Linked DNA regions of Homo sapiens: region 2 is linked to region 1. The links are contacts of gene promoters, found by promoter capture Hi-C in blood cells and fetal thymus (Javierre and others, 2016). All regions are on one chromosome and are shown on one strand. Each heading gives the region's core, a stretch centred on a gene start or on the middle of the fragment in contact. The rest is flanking DNA. Distances are from core to core; before and after follow the strand shown.

Region 1 (6,635 bases), core at 4,121-6,620:
ACTCAGGCAACATTTAGAGTCCCCTGCACAAGAACTCAGACCAAAGAGGTTCACCCTTGAGAACTCGCCCTGAAGACTGGCCCACAGAGGATCAGAGAGCATGGGTATTGTTCGCAGGACTGGCTCAGGGCACCCAAGTGATCCTAGTGGGGAGCACTCCAGGAACCCACCACCAGGTGTGCTTAGGGTCCAAGGTGACCCCATAGATGCATGGCTCTCCCTCACTCGCTGCCCACAGCTCTCCCCAGTGTCCGCCTGGACGACGGCCCGGGCAGGGAAGGCTGTCTCCCAGGAAGGCGGTCTCCCAGGAGGGCTGCCTCTTGGGAAGGCTGTCTCCCGGGAAGGGCGTCTCTTGGGAAAGCTGTCTCCTGGGAAGGCTGTCTCTGAGACTGGTCCACCTTCACCTTTGGGAATGATCTGCTTGAGGCCCATGGCAGTTTGGGTCCCTGCTGGGGCACACCCAGACGGTGCTCCTGGAAGCCTCCCGTGAAGGCGCCTGGAGTCCAGGGTGGTGGGGCTGCCGGCTGGCCTGTGCCACACGTTGGCAGGCTCTGCCTCTTCCATGTGCAACAGGCCTGGGCTCACATCAGAGAACTCAGGCCAAGAACTCGGGCTGGGGTAGGGAGCTGAACTAGCACCTACCGAGGTCAGAATGACACCGCGGAAGCTCTTGTCATTCTCCAGCTTCTCCAGGCTGATGACCAGCTCCGTCAGAAACTCCAGGCTCAGGCTGTTCACTGGGGGGTTCTTGAATTTCATCACAGCGACCCCTAATTTAAAGAATGAGAAGAGAAAGCTCACACCTGGCACTGGAAAAGCAGCCTGACCAGCCTGCACCCTCAACTAAGCCATGATAGCTGTGCATTTTGGGGGTTTTATTTATTAATTTATTTATTTAGAGACAGAGTCTCGCTCTGTCACCCAGGCTGGAGTGCAGTGGCGCGATCTCAGCTCACTGCAAGCTCTGCCTTCCGGGTTCACACCATTCTCCTGCCTCAGCCTCCTGAGTAGCTGGGACTACAGGTGCCCACCACCACGCCCGGATAATTTTTTTCTTTTAAGTAGAGACAGGGTTTCACCGTGTTAGCCAGGATGGGCTCGATCTCTTGACCTCGCGATCTGCCCACGTCGGCCTCCCAAAGTGCTGGGATTACAGGCGTGAGCCCCCGCGCCTGGTCCTATTTTTATTTACTTTTTTGAGACGGAGTTTTGCTCTTGTTGCCCAGGTTCAAGTGCAATGGAGCGATCTTGGCTCACCGCAACCTCTGCCTCTTGGGTTCAAGCGATTCGACTGCCTCAGCCTCCCGAGTAGCTAGGATTACAGGTGCGTGCCGCTACATCCAGCTAATTTTGTATTTTTAGTAGGGACGGGGTTTTCTCCATGCTGGTCAGGCTGGTCTTGAACTCCCAACCTCAGGTGATCCGCTCGCCTCGGCCTCCCAAAGTGCCAGGATTACAGGCGTAAGCCACAGCGCCCGGCCTGGGGGTTATTTTTTTATTATTATTATTTTTGAGACAGGGTCTCACTCTATCACCTAGGAGTGCAGGGGTGTGATCTCTGGTTACTGCAGCTTTGACCTCCTGGGCTCCAGCGATCCTCCCAACTCAGCCTGCTGAGTAGCTGGGATTATAGGCAAGCGCCACCACACCCAGTTAATCTTTTTTATTTTTTAGTACAGACGAGGTCTTATTTTGTTGCCCAGGCTGGTCTTGAACTCCTGAGCTTAAGTGGTCCTTCTGCCTCAGGCTCCCAAAGTGCTAGATTACAGGAGTGAGCCCTTGGTTTTTTACATTGAAGTAAGATCGATATAACATAAATTAACAATTTTATTTATTCTATATAAACTGCATGCTTTTTAAATCAACCATTCTCTCTTTCTCTCTCTATCATTTTTTTCTGAGACAGAGTCTCGCTCGTCGCCCAGGCTGGAGTGCAGTGGCGCGATCTCAGCTCACTACAACGTCCACCTCCCGGGTTCAAGCGATTCTCCTGCCTCAGCCTCCTGAGTAGCTGGGACTACAGGTATGCGCCACTATGCCCAGCTAATTTTTGTATTTTTAGTAGAGATGGGGTTTCACCATGTTGGTTGGCCAGGATGGTCTCGATCTCTTGACTTCGTGAACACCTCGCCTCGGCCTCCCAAAGTGCTGGGATTACAGGTGTGAGCCACCATGCCCGGCCAAATTAACCATTTTCTATCTTTATTTTTTTTTTGAGACAAGAGCCTCGCTCTGTTGCCCAGGCTGGAGTGCAGCAGCGCTATCTCGGCTCACTGCAACCTCTGCCTCCTGGGTTCAAGCCATTCTTCTGCCTCAGCCTCCTGAGAAGCTGGGATTACAGGACACACCACCATGCCTGGCTAATTTTTGCATTTTTAGTAGAGACGGGGTTTCACCAGGTTGGCCAGGCTGGTCATGAACTTCTGACCTCAGGTGATCCTCCTGCCTCGGCCTCCCAAAGTGATGTGATTATAGGTATGAGCCACTGTGCCCAGCCTAAATTAGCCATTTTTAAGTAAACAAGTCAGGCACTTACACAATTCAGTATACTGACTGTGTTGTGCAACTATCGCCGCTGCCTAGTTCCAGAACCTTTTCATTGTCCCAAAAGGAATCCCTGTCCCCATGAGCAGTTGCTCCTCATCCCACCCCTAGCCCCTGGAAGCCGCCAGTCTGCGTTCTGTGTCTGCGGTTTTCCTGCTCCAGCCATATTCCATATCACTGGGATACCGCCGGGCTTTGTTGTCGGCTTTGTCCACTTAGTATCATGTGTTCAAGGTTCATCCATGTGGTTGTCATTCCTATTTATTTATTTATTTATTTTATTTAATTAATTAATTTATTTTTGAGACAGATTCTTGCTCTGTTGCCCAGGCTGGAGTGCAGTGGCGCGATCTCGGCTTACTGCAAGCTCCACCTCCGGGGTTCACACCATTCTCCTGCCTCAGCCTCCCAAGTAGCTGGGACTACAGGTGCCCGCCACCACGCCCGGCTAATTTTTTTTTGTATTTTTTAGTAGAGATGGGGTTTCACCGTGTTAGCCAGAATGGTCTCAATCTCCTGACCTCGTGATCCGCGCACCCTGGCCTCCCAAAGTGCTGGGATTACAGGTGGGAGCCACCGGGCCCGGACTCAAAAACATGTTATCTTAAGGTATTGGAATGGGTAGTGTGGACTACACATTGTGAATATACTTACGGCCACGGGGTTGTACATTGCAAAATGGCTAGAATGGTAAATGTGAGGCATATTTTAAAGATTTTTATGTACACACACACACACATTACCTCCGGTAAAAAAGGAAAAGTGTTCGTACAATGACAATTTTTTTACTCGAGTGCCTCCCCACTTTACCATATAAAAAGACAACGTAAGCCGGGCGCGGTGGCTCACGCCTGTAATCCCAGCACTTTGGGAGGCCGAGGCGGGTGGATCACGAGGTCAGGAGATCAAGACCATCCTGGCTAACATGGTGAAACCCCGTCTCCACTAAAAATACCAAAAAAAAAAAATTAGCCGGGCGTGGTGGCGGGCGCCTGTAGTCCCAGCTACTTGGGCGGCTGAGGTAGAAGAATGGTGTGAACCCGGGAGGCGGAGCTTGCAGTGAGCGGAGATCGTGCCACTGCACTCCAGCCTGGCGACAGAGCAAGACTCCGTCTCAAAAAAAAAAAAAAAAAAAAAAAAAAAAAGACAAAGTAGAGTTTGGAGTCAGAAAGTCAGGCCTGACTGAGATTGCAGTGAGCCGGAACCGCGCCATTGCACGCCAGCCTGGGTGACAGAGGGAGCCTCTGTCTCAAAAAAAAAAAAATAATAATTTTTTTTTTTGCATTTTGTTGAGATATATTCAAATATGCTACAGAAATGATCCCTTCAGAAACTCAGTTTTTACAAAAATTAGTGGGCATAGTGGTGGGTCCCTGTAATCCCAGCTATTTGGGAGGCTGAGGAGGGAGAATCGCTTGAACCCAGGAGGCACAGGTTGCAGTGATCGGAGATTGCGCCACTGCACTCCAGTCTGGCGACTGGAGAGCAAGACTACATCTCCAAAAAAAAAAAAAAAAAAAAAAAAAGTCAGTTTGAAGTTGGTCTTAGTTTGTCCCTCTCAAGTTTGTAGAGAGAGCCCAGGCAGCTCCCTCAGCCCAGACAGAGAGGACGGAACCAAGTTCAGAGGCACCAGGAGCCTGGAGTCCTGAAGCTGTGCAAAGTTGGGCACAGCCCTGAGTCTGGGGGGTTGGGGAGGGCAGGGGCTGTGACTTACTTGCGGAGGGGGAGGGCCTCCTCTCAGGAGCCACAGCAGGGACTGCTGCACCGGGAGGTCCAGGTCAGCATGTCCTGGAAGCAGAACTGCTGGCGCCTAGGCGTGCCCTCTCGGTGCCCTCAGCTCGGCCTCCTGTCTGGAGGGAGCGCACAGGCTTCTCTTCCAAAAGTACTTTTTCTATCCTTTCCAGTGGGTTTTACCAAGGGTTCTGACGGGCGGGTAGGTACGAGGTTCTGTGCCACATGGGAGTGTTAACAAACGTAATTTTATTCCAAAAGATTCCAATTCTTTTCCACTTCCAATTGAATAACTTAGATAACAGCTCATATCCCCGCCAACTTTATTTTTATTTATTTATTTATTTTGAGACGGAATCTTGCTCTGTGGCCCAAGCTGGAGTGCAGTGGCACAATCTCGGCTCACTGCAGCCTCCACCTCCCAGATTCCAGCGATTCTTCTGCCTCAGCCTCCCAGGCATAGGCACGCACCACCACGCCCAGCTAATTTTTTTCTTTTGTATTTTTCAGTACAGATAGGGTTTCATCATGTTGGCCAGGCTGATCTCGAACTCCTGACCTCAGGTGATCCGCCCGCCTCTGCCTCTTAAAGTGCTAGGATTACAGGCGTGAGCCACCGCGCCCGGCCTCCGCCAACTTTAAAAACAGAAACTTTTATCTCATGACGAACGAACCCAGGTAGAGCGGCAAGGTTCTGTTTCGAAACTTGGGTTCTAAACACAAACCGAGCGTCGACAGACGTGGTTCTCCGACAGCACCCCGCGAGCGCGGACCCCCGCGGGTCCTGACCCCACGCCCGCCCTCCCTCGGCGCCGCCCGCTCACCTGCGCCCGCGTCCGGCTCCACCAGCACCCGCTGGCTCCCGAAGCGCCGCGCGCCGTCTCCGCCGCCGGCCGCCCGCTCCGTCCGCCCGAGGGCCGCGCCCGGGAGCCGGGCCCCTGCGAAGGCAGCGTGGGGGAGCCCGTTAGTTCCCGGTCCTGGCCCCGGCCCCGGCCCGATCCCTGCCCACCCCGGGTTTCGCACCCGCGCGGAGCAGAACGCGCGCCGGGACTCGCACAGAAGCCACCAGCGCCATCTTGACCGCAACGCGCGGGATAAAGGTCGCGGGCTGAGCTCGCCTCCTGGGGAGGGGGCGGAGCCCCCCCAACTAGGTCCCGCCCCGTTCCCAGAGGCTGGTCAACGCCTCCACCTACCGGCCGAAACAGCCGCTCGCCGCCCTCCGGCTTCACCCCGGGCAGCCGCGCGCTTCCGGGGCAGGCACCTGGATCTGGGCCAGGGCTGGCCTACAAGGAGGCGCAGGCCCACTGCTGAAGCAGCCACGACCAGCTCAGCGCCAGGGCAGGCTCTTCTACAGCGCGGGACACTGTAGGCAAGAGGCTGCCGGTGTTCGTGACCGCGAGCTCTCGGCCGGGCCCAGCTACTGCAGTATCGGCGCTGGAAAGGCGATCAAAGCACGGAACCCCTCCCGAGGGGGCCGTCAGGGAGGCCAGGGGCTGCCTGGGGTGAGCCCGGCCTCCTGCCCCTTTGGGAACAGGATCAGAGCTGCAGGTTTAGTCACCGAAATGGGGGTGGGGGCAGCAGAACCCAGCGGTAAGAACAGGCCACCCGCCTTGCTCAGCACAAGGGCAAGTGCACAAAGGCCGGACCGCAGTGGCACCTTTTTATTTGCAGAGAAATGCCGAAAGATAAGAATACAGTCTGTTCCCGCTGGGCCGTAAGCGGCAGCTCGGGAGTGGGCCTTTGTACTGTCTGGTGTGGGGTTTTGGTCAGACCACTGGGAGCACTGGGCAGTAAGGTCCCAGCTGTGTTGGGTGGTCTCAACTTTTGTTCTCATCTTAAGCATTTCCAATTCTTCCTTGTGTCCCAAACCAATTTTTGAGGTGGAAAAATGGCCACTTAACGGAGGAGGAAGCAAGCCTGGCATGGTGACACACACCTGTAACCCCAGTGACTCAGGACCAGCTGGGTAACATAGCAACAACTTGTTGCTACAAAAAATTCTTAAAAATTAGCTCCTGCTGCTGGGCGCGGTGGCTCATGCCTGTAATCCCAGCACTTTGGGGGCCAAGGTGGGCAAATCATGAGGTCAGGAGTTTGAGACCAGCCGGGCCAATATGATGAAACGCCGTCTCTACTAGAAATACAAAAAATTAGCTGGGCATGGTGGCAGGTGCCTGTAATTCCAGCTACTCAGGAGGCTGAGGCAGGAAAATCACTTGAACCCAGGAGGCAGAGGTTGTAGTGAGCCAATATTGCGCCACTGCACTCCAACCCAGGCAACAGAGACTGTCTCAAAAAAAAAATTAAAAAATTAAAAAAAAATTAGCCCCTGCTACTCTGGACACTGAAGAAGGAGTTGG
Region 2 (6,635 bases), core at 1,725-4,224, 240 kb before region 1:
GGCTATGCAGCAAATGATGAGGGGAAGGGCACTCTACGTGAGCCCTGGAGACGGCCAAGCTAGGCCCCAAGGAGAGCAAGAGGCAAATGGGGTGAGGCCTGCTTAGGAACAGGAGGCCCCCAAGACCCCCCACAGGGACAGGTGTGGTGTCTGCCTGGGGCCTTGCTGCTCTACACTCCCCAGCATGTCATGGGCACACAAAAGGACAGCGGTGAGGGCCTGCCCACACGTGGGGAGGGGGACCCTGGGGTTGGCTCCCAGGGCCATCTAGAGAGTCTAGACCTCCAAGGAGCCCAGATGGGGACAGCAGCAGCAGGGAGCATCTTACAGAGGGCCAGGGCCATGGGGGACGGGAGCGGGGTGGGGGGACAGCAGAAGCAGGGAGCATTTTACAGATAGGGCCAGGGCCACGGGGGACGGGAGCAGGGCGGAGGGGGAGCAGTAGGAGTAGGAAAGCATGACCCAAGCCAGCATGTCACCCTCCTGACCTGGGACCTTGGGTAACTGTGGGCTGGCCCTCTGCGCCCCCTCCCACTGCCTGCCTGTAAGGTGCAGGTGGGCTGCCCTGGGGGGCTTGCAGCCTCATCAGGACTCCTGCAGTAACACCAGGGACCAGAGCAAGCTGGAGAGCAAGATGCAAACAGCAGGAACCGGCCCTTGAGAAAGACGCAGCCAGGAAAGAGGCCCAGAACGTGGGGCTCCACCACCCCAGGACCTCTGTCAGCCATGGCCAAGACCAGCGCCCCCACCTCCCACGGAGGGGAGCCTGCCTCGGCTTCCACCCTGAGCACCTGCCAGGGGTCAGGCCCATCTGGCTCCTGGCCTGAGCAGCAGCTGCAGCCTCCACAGGGAAGGCCTGGGTCCAGGTGTGTGGAACTAACAAGCACATGGAGCCAGCCGATTCCACACGGCATCCTGGACACTTTCCTCACAATTTTCGCAAAACCTTAGTCCCATAAGGGAGGCCAAGGCAACGCCAGGGTTCAGGAGTTGAGGGTTGCAGTGGGAATTCCTGAGCACGCATGGGACACAGAATATATTCAGGGGATGGTGCTGAACTCAGTAAGGAAAAAGGAGACTAGAGTGAGGCGGCAAGCTCAAGATGGGAAGAAAATAGAACGAATGCAAAGGAGAGGAGACCAGCAAACAGCAAACTTTCCAGGAGCCCCTCCTTCAGCCCAGTAAGGCGGGGTAGGCCCTAGAGGAAGCCGGCTGGGGGCACCCAGTGCCAAACCACACCCCGGCTGACAGCTCATGTCCGCAGCCCCCAGCCACAGAGCTCCTGGAGGGCGTGGGGCCTACAAGGAATGAGAGCGGGCAGAGGCTGCCACAGTAAGCATACGCAGATGTTCACTCATGTCTTGCATCAGACCTGCAGCCTGGGTCGGGACCTCACGTGCCAAGAACTCCTTAGCGTCTTCTTTCCGGAAGGAAGCTACAGGTGTGCTGGGAAACCTAGCTGTTGGAGAGTGAGGTCATGCTATGCAGGACTGGCTGGCAAGGCAGGCCCTGGCAAAGCCAGGAAGCGCCCTGAGGAAGCCACGGGCCAAGGTCCTCTGTGACTGTTCCTGCACCCCAGATCTCCCCGGGGTCTGGGTCGGCCTCCTCCTGTCACATGACAGACTGATAGAATCTCCAAATGTCTTTTTCCAAAAAGGGCACAGACTATAAGCCCACAAATTGCTCAGAGAATTGCAGCATCTCTTCAACTCCTTTGATGTAAACGTCTACTTAAAGAAAGAAAAGGAAAAAAAGAAAGAACCTACACCTCAATACTGCTCTGCATCACTTCTGGGGAGAAGAAAGTTAGATTCCTGGCAGATGTCACCAGCCGAAGCCTTCTATGAACAAACCGGGGGAATTTCACAATGCTGGAAGCAAACAAATCTCTAAGCTCAGCAAACCAACGGGCTCCAGCCAGGTGCCCACAGCCAGCAGCTGGCAGTGCAGTGAGGGTGGAGGAACGCTGCATGGTACCCTCTGACCCCTCCACGGCTTCCAAGTCTGTACAGTCAAAAACGTCTCCCATTCACTGCGGAGATGAGCGCCAAAGGCGGGGGGCGGCGGCGAGGAGGAGGACAACTTCCTAACACTTTTCTCCCTTCCCGCCAAGAAGCGCGAGGGGGCCTTCCCCTCCGACGGGCAGGTCTCCTTCCGAGGCTAGTGTCACCTCCACTCCACAGAGGAAAACGTCAGTCTCGGAAGGAGTTTGCTCAGGGTCATCCAATGGGGGCCCAGAAACACAGCTGGGCTGAGAATGCCCAGAGTTTGACGCCCTGCTTCCAGGACGGATGGCCTCCGCAGAGTCCCCCTTGCCTTGTTTCCTCGAATGGAGGACCCTGGAAAATAAACTCCTGAAGACGAGCAGGTCACCGAGTTCTCCATCTGATCAGGACCCTTCCTGAGGCCCGGCAGGAACCCCCGGGACACGGGGGAAGTCCCCAGGCTGTCCCCACAGGGCTTGCCCCCTCCTGCAACCCGCTCGGCCGCCTCCGGCCTCCAAGCCCCAACGCCCCGCCGTCAGCCGCACGGCCGGGACCCCGCCCTGGGTGGCCCCACCAGGCCTCTCTCGGAAGCCGGCGCCGCCGGGCCCACGGCCGGACCTCAGTGAGGCAAAGTCCCCATCCGGTCGCCGGGAGCCCCGCTGCCCCCGGGCCGCGCCCCCGGCGCCCCGCACCTGGCGCAGCTCCTCGCGGCACACGGCGCAGTAGCGCTGCTCGCAGAGCACCCGCATCTTGGTAGAGCAGCGGTAGCACACCGGGTGGTCGCAGCGGCCCCAGCGCCGTGGCCTCCAGGTCTCCGCAGCACAGCACGCAGCTCCCGCCTCCCCGCTCAGGAGCTGCCGCCGCCTCCGCCTCCATGTCCGCGCGCCGCCCCTCGGCGCCCCCCGGCCGCCGCCATGGTCCGGGATCCGGCCCCCCTCTCGGCCGGTCGTGGCGCCGAGCGGCCTGGCTCCCGGCGGGCCCGCCCCTTCCGGGCAAACGTCACCGCCCCACCCAGCAACGGGCCCGCCCGGCGCAAGTGCGCGTCGCGACTTCCGCCTCAGCGCGGCGCCGGCTAGAGCGGTGGCCCTGATAGAGGCCGCTCTACCATGAGCCGACCGCTCGAAGGTCCGCGCGGCCACGCGGCCAGCCCCGGGCTCCTCTGGGCCACGCGTGTCACGTCAACACTCGCCGGGCTCCACGAACTGGCGTTGTCAGATGAAACACGGCACAACTGGTTTGCATCTCAGATGAACAAGGGGTCATGTCTTAGTGTAAGTATAGCCCAAATATTGATGGGCTAGGCTCATACTAAAATGCTGCTCCTTATCTGAAATTGACATTTAAGTGGACCTGCCGTATTTGTATTTGCTAAATCTGGCCACCTTATTAGGAAACCGGTCTCTGGTATTTGGAACACACACAAGCGTGGTCCCGCCTCCACTTCCCTAATGCCCTGTTTAAATCCCTACATGAAAGACAACGTGAAAGGCAGCACGTGGTGACGTCCATCTCGCAGCCCAGGGCAGTCTCGCCAGGCCTGCCCAGAAGGGGCCTCTGGAAGGCACGAACGGAACCTGTCCTCTTTACGCTGGGCCCAGCACAGGACGTGTTTGGATGGATGCTGCAGTAACAGGGCCTCCTCCCTACCCTTGAGGGCCAGGCACACTCAGGACCTCCCTCCCTCTGCCATCCAGAAGGCAGGTCCAGATCTAAACCCTACTGGAAAAGAGGCAGTAAATTGTATCAATGAGCCTGAACTTTACTTACTTTATTTGAGACCGGGTCTTGCTCTTGCTGTAACACAGTGGTACGATCACAGCACACTGAGGCCTCAACCTCCTGGGCTCAAGTGATCCATGCCCAGTGAACTTGGACTTTAGAAACAGACACAAATGGGCTTGAAACCCCAATTTTGCCACTTGAAAAAAGCTGTCAGGCACAGTGGCTCAAGCCTGTAATCCCAGCAGTTTGGGAGGCTGGGTGGCCCGGATTGCTGGAGCCTGGGAATTTGAGACCAGCCTGGCCTACACAGTCAGGCTCCATCTCCACAAAAAAAATTTTTAGGCCGGGCGTGGTGGCTCACGCCTGTAATCCCAGCACTTTGGGAGGTTGGGATCACCTGAGGTCAGGAATTGGAGACAAGCCTGACCAAAATGGTGAAACCCCATCTCTACTAAAAATACAAAAATTAGCCGGGCGTGGTGACATGTGCCTGTAGTCCCAGCTACTCGGCAGCCTGAGGCAGTAGAATCTCTTGAAACCGTGAGGCAGAGGTTGCAGTGAGCCGAGATCACGACAATCACGCCACTGCACTCCAGCCTTGGCAACAGAGCGAGACTCCATCTCAAAAAAAAAAAAAAAAACACACACGACTAGAGTGCAGTGGCGTGATCTCGGCTCACTGCAAGCTCCGCCTCCCGGGTTCACGCCATTCTCCTGCCTCAGCCTCCTGAGTAGCTGGGACTACAGGCACCCGCCACCACGCCCTGCTAATTTTTTTTTTTTATTTTTAGTAGAGACAGGATTTCACCATGTTCGCCAGGATGGTCTCGATCTCCTGACCTCTTGATCCACCTGCCTTGGCCTCCCAAAGTGCTGGGATTACAGGCATGAGCCACTGTGCCTGGCCAAAACACACAAAAATTAACGGGGCGTGGTGACATGCGCCTGTAGTCACAGCTTCTCGGGAGGCTGAGGCACGAGAAACGCTTGATCCCAGGAGGCAGAGGTTTCAATGAGCAGAGATTGCGCCCCTGCACTCCAACCTGGGCCACAGAGTGAGACTCCATCTCAAAAAAAAAAAAAGAAAACTGGGAAAAGTTATTGTAAGGATGTAAGAAGTTCAACATCTTGGCTGGGCGCGGTGGCTCACACCTGTAATCCCAGCTTGAAATTGGCACTTTGTGAGGCTGAGGCAGGTGGATCACGAGGTCAGGAGATCAAGACCATCATGACTAACGCGGTGAAACCCCATGTCTACTAAAAATACAAAAAGAAATTAGCCTGGTGTGGTGGCGGGCGCCTGTAGTCCCACCTACTCCGGAGGCTGAGGTAGGAGAATGGTGTGAACCCGGGAGGTGGAGCTTGCAGTGAGCCAAGATTGCGCCACTGCATTCCAGCATGGGCAACAGAGTGAGACTCCATCTCAAAAAAAAAAAAAAAAAAAAAGGCCACAAACTTGGCTTAAAACACACAAATGTATTATCTTTAGTTCTGGAGTCCAGACTCTAACGTGGGTCACACTGAGCTAAAATCAGGGTGTCAGTATCACTGCATTCCTATTTGGAGGCTCCAGGGGAGAATCTGCTTCCTTGCCTTTTCCAGCTGTTAGAGGCTGCCCGAACTCCTTGGCTCATGGCTGCTTTCTGTCTTTCAGAGTTGACTCTGGGGGAGGCCAGTGGTCCAATCTTTTTTTTTTCTTTGAGATGGAGTCTCTGTCGCCCAGGCTGAAGTGCAGTGGCACAGTCTTGGCTCACTGCAACCTCCACTTCCCAGGTTCAAGCAATTCTCCTGCCTCAGCCTCCCGAGTAGCTGGGACTACAGGCACCCGCCACAACACCCGGCTAATTTCTTTTTGTATTTTTAGTAGAGACAGGGTTTCACCGTGTTAGCCAGGATGGTCTCCATCTCCTGCCCTCATGATCCACCCGCCTCGGCCTCCCAAAGTGCTGGGATTACAGGCGTGAGCCACCCCGCCCAGCTTTTTTTTTTTTAGGTGGAGTTTCGCTCTTGTTGTCCAGGCTGGAGTGCAATGGCACAATCTCGGCTCACTGCAAACTCCGCCTCCCGGTTCGAGCAATTCTCCTGCCTCAGCCTCCTCAGTAGCTGGGATTACAGGCATGCGCCACCACGCCCGGCTAATTTTGTATTTTTAGTGGAGACGGGGTTTCTCCATGTTGGTCAGGCTGGTCTTGAACTTCTGACCTCAGGTGATCCGCCTGCATTGGCCTCCCAAAGTGCTGGGATTACAGGCGTGAGCCACCACGCCCAGCCGCTAATCTCCTATTAAAGCCAGCTGGCCTGATGTGGTGGCTCAGGCCTGTAATCTCAGCACTTTGGGAGGCTGAGGCAGGCAGATCACTGGAGGTCAAGAGTTCGAGGCCAGCCTGGCCAACATGGTGAAACCCCATCTCTACTAAAAATACAAAAATTAGCCGGGCATGGTGGTGGGCGCCTATAATTCCAGCTACTTGGGAACCTAAGGCAGGAGAATCGCTTTGAACCCGGGAGGCAGAGGTTGTAGTGAGCGGAGATCATGCCACTGTACTCCAGCCTGGGTGACAGAGCAAGACTCTGTTTCAAATAAAATAAAATAAAGCCAGCTAATTAGCAACCTTAATTTTATATTCCCTGGTGTGGTGGTGCGCACGTGTAGTCTCAGCTACTCGGGAGGCCGAGGCAGGAGGATTGTGTCAGTCCAGGAGTTCTGAGGATATAGTGGGCTGTGTCAGTCAGGTGTCTGCACTAAGTTTGGCATCGACTTGGTGACCTCCTGGGAGCAGGGGACCACCAGGTTGCCTCAGGAGGGGTGAACTGGGCCAGTTTGGAAAGAGAGCAGGTCAAAACTCCTGTGATCAGTAGTGGGATCACGCCTGTGAATAGCCACTAGACATCAGCCTGGGCAACATAGTGAGACCCTGCCTCTAATCA

What was found. Contacts are between HindIII fragments. The CHiCAGO score rates a contact against its expected background, and 5 or more counts as called.
Region 2: the fragment with the promoter of ZNF598 here is called in contact with the fragment with the promoter of ECI1 in region 1 in 2 of 17 cell types (erythroblasts and endothelial precursors); the score reaches 7.7 in erythroblasts.

What each region holds. Positions count from the first base shown.
Region 1 is chr16:2,246,217-2,252,851 of GRCh38, forward strand. It overlaps ECI1 (enoyl-CoA delta isomerase 1), which reads right to left and starts at 5,371. Exons shown (of 7, transcript NM_001919.4): 1 at 5,299-5,371; 2 at 5,100-5,213; 3 at 643-770. The coding sequence starts at 5,350. It overlaps LOC107984839 (a long non-coding RNA gene), which reads left to right and starts at 5,454. Exons shown (of 2, transcript XR_001752052.2): 1 at 5,454-5,777. RefSeq lists enhancers at 4,703-4,832, 5,763-5,822 and a silencer at 5,043-5,512. The HindIII fragment of the contact is 15,979 bases long and covers 1-6,635 here.
Region 2 is chr16:2,006,847-2,013,481 of GRCh38, forward strand. ZNF598 (zinc finger protein 598, E3 ubiquitin ligase) reads right to left here and starts at 2,975. Exons shown (of 14, transcript NM_178167.5): 1 at 2,892-2,975; 2 at 2,779-2,890; 3 at 2,678-2,777. The coding sequence starts at 2,901. It overlaps LOC124903626 (a long non-coding RNA gene), which reads left to right and starts at 3,039. Exons shown (of 2, transcript XR_007064941.1): 1 at 3,039-3,256; 2 at 3,462-3,742. It also overlaps the pseudogene RN7SL219P. RefSeq lists enhancers at 1-801, 2,701-3,649, 3,174-3,333 and silencers at 2,274-2,343, 2,354-2,783, 2,874-3,093, 5,184-5,379. The HindIII fragment of the contact is 28,758 bases long and covers 1-6,635 here.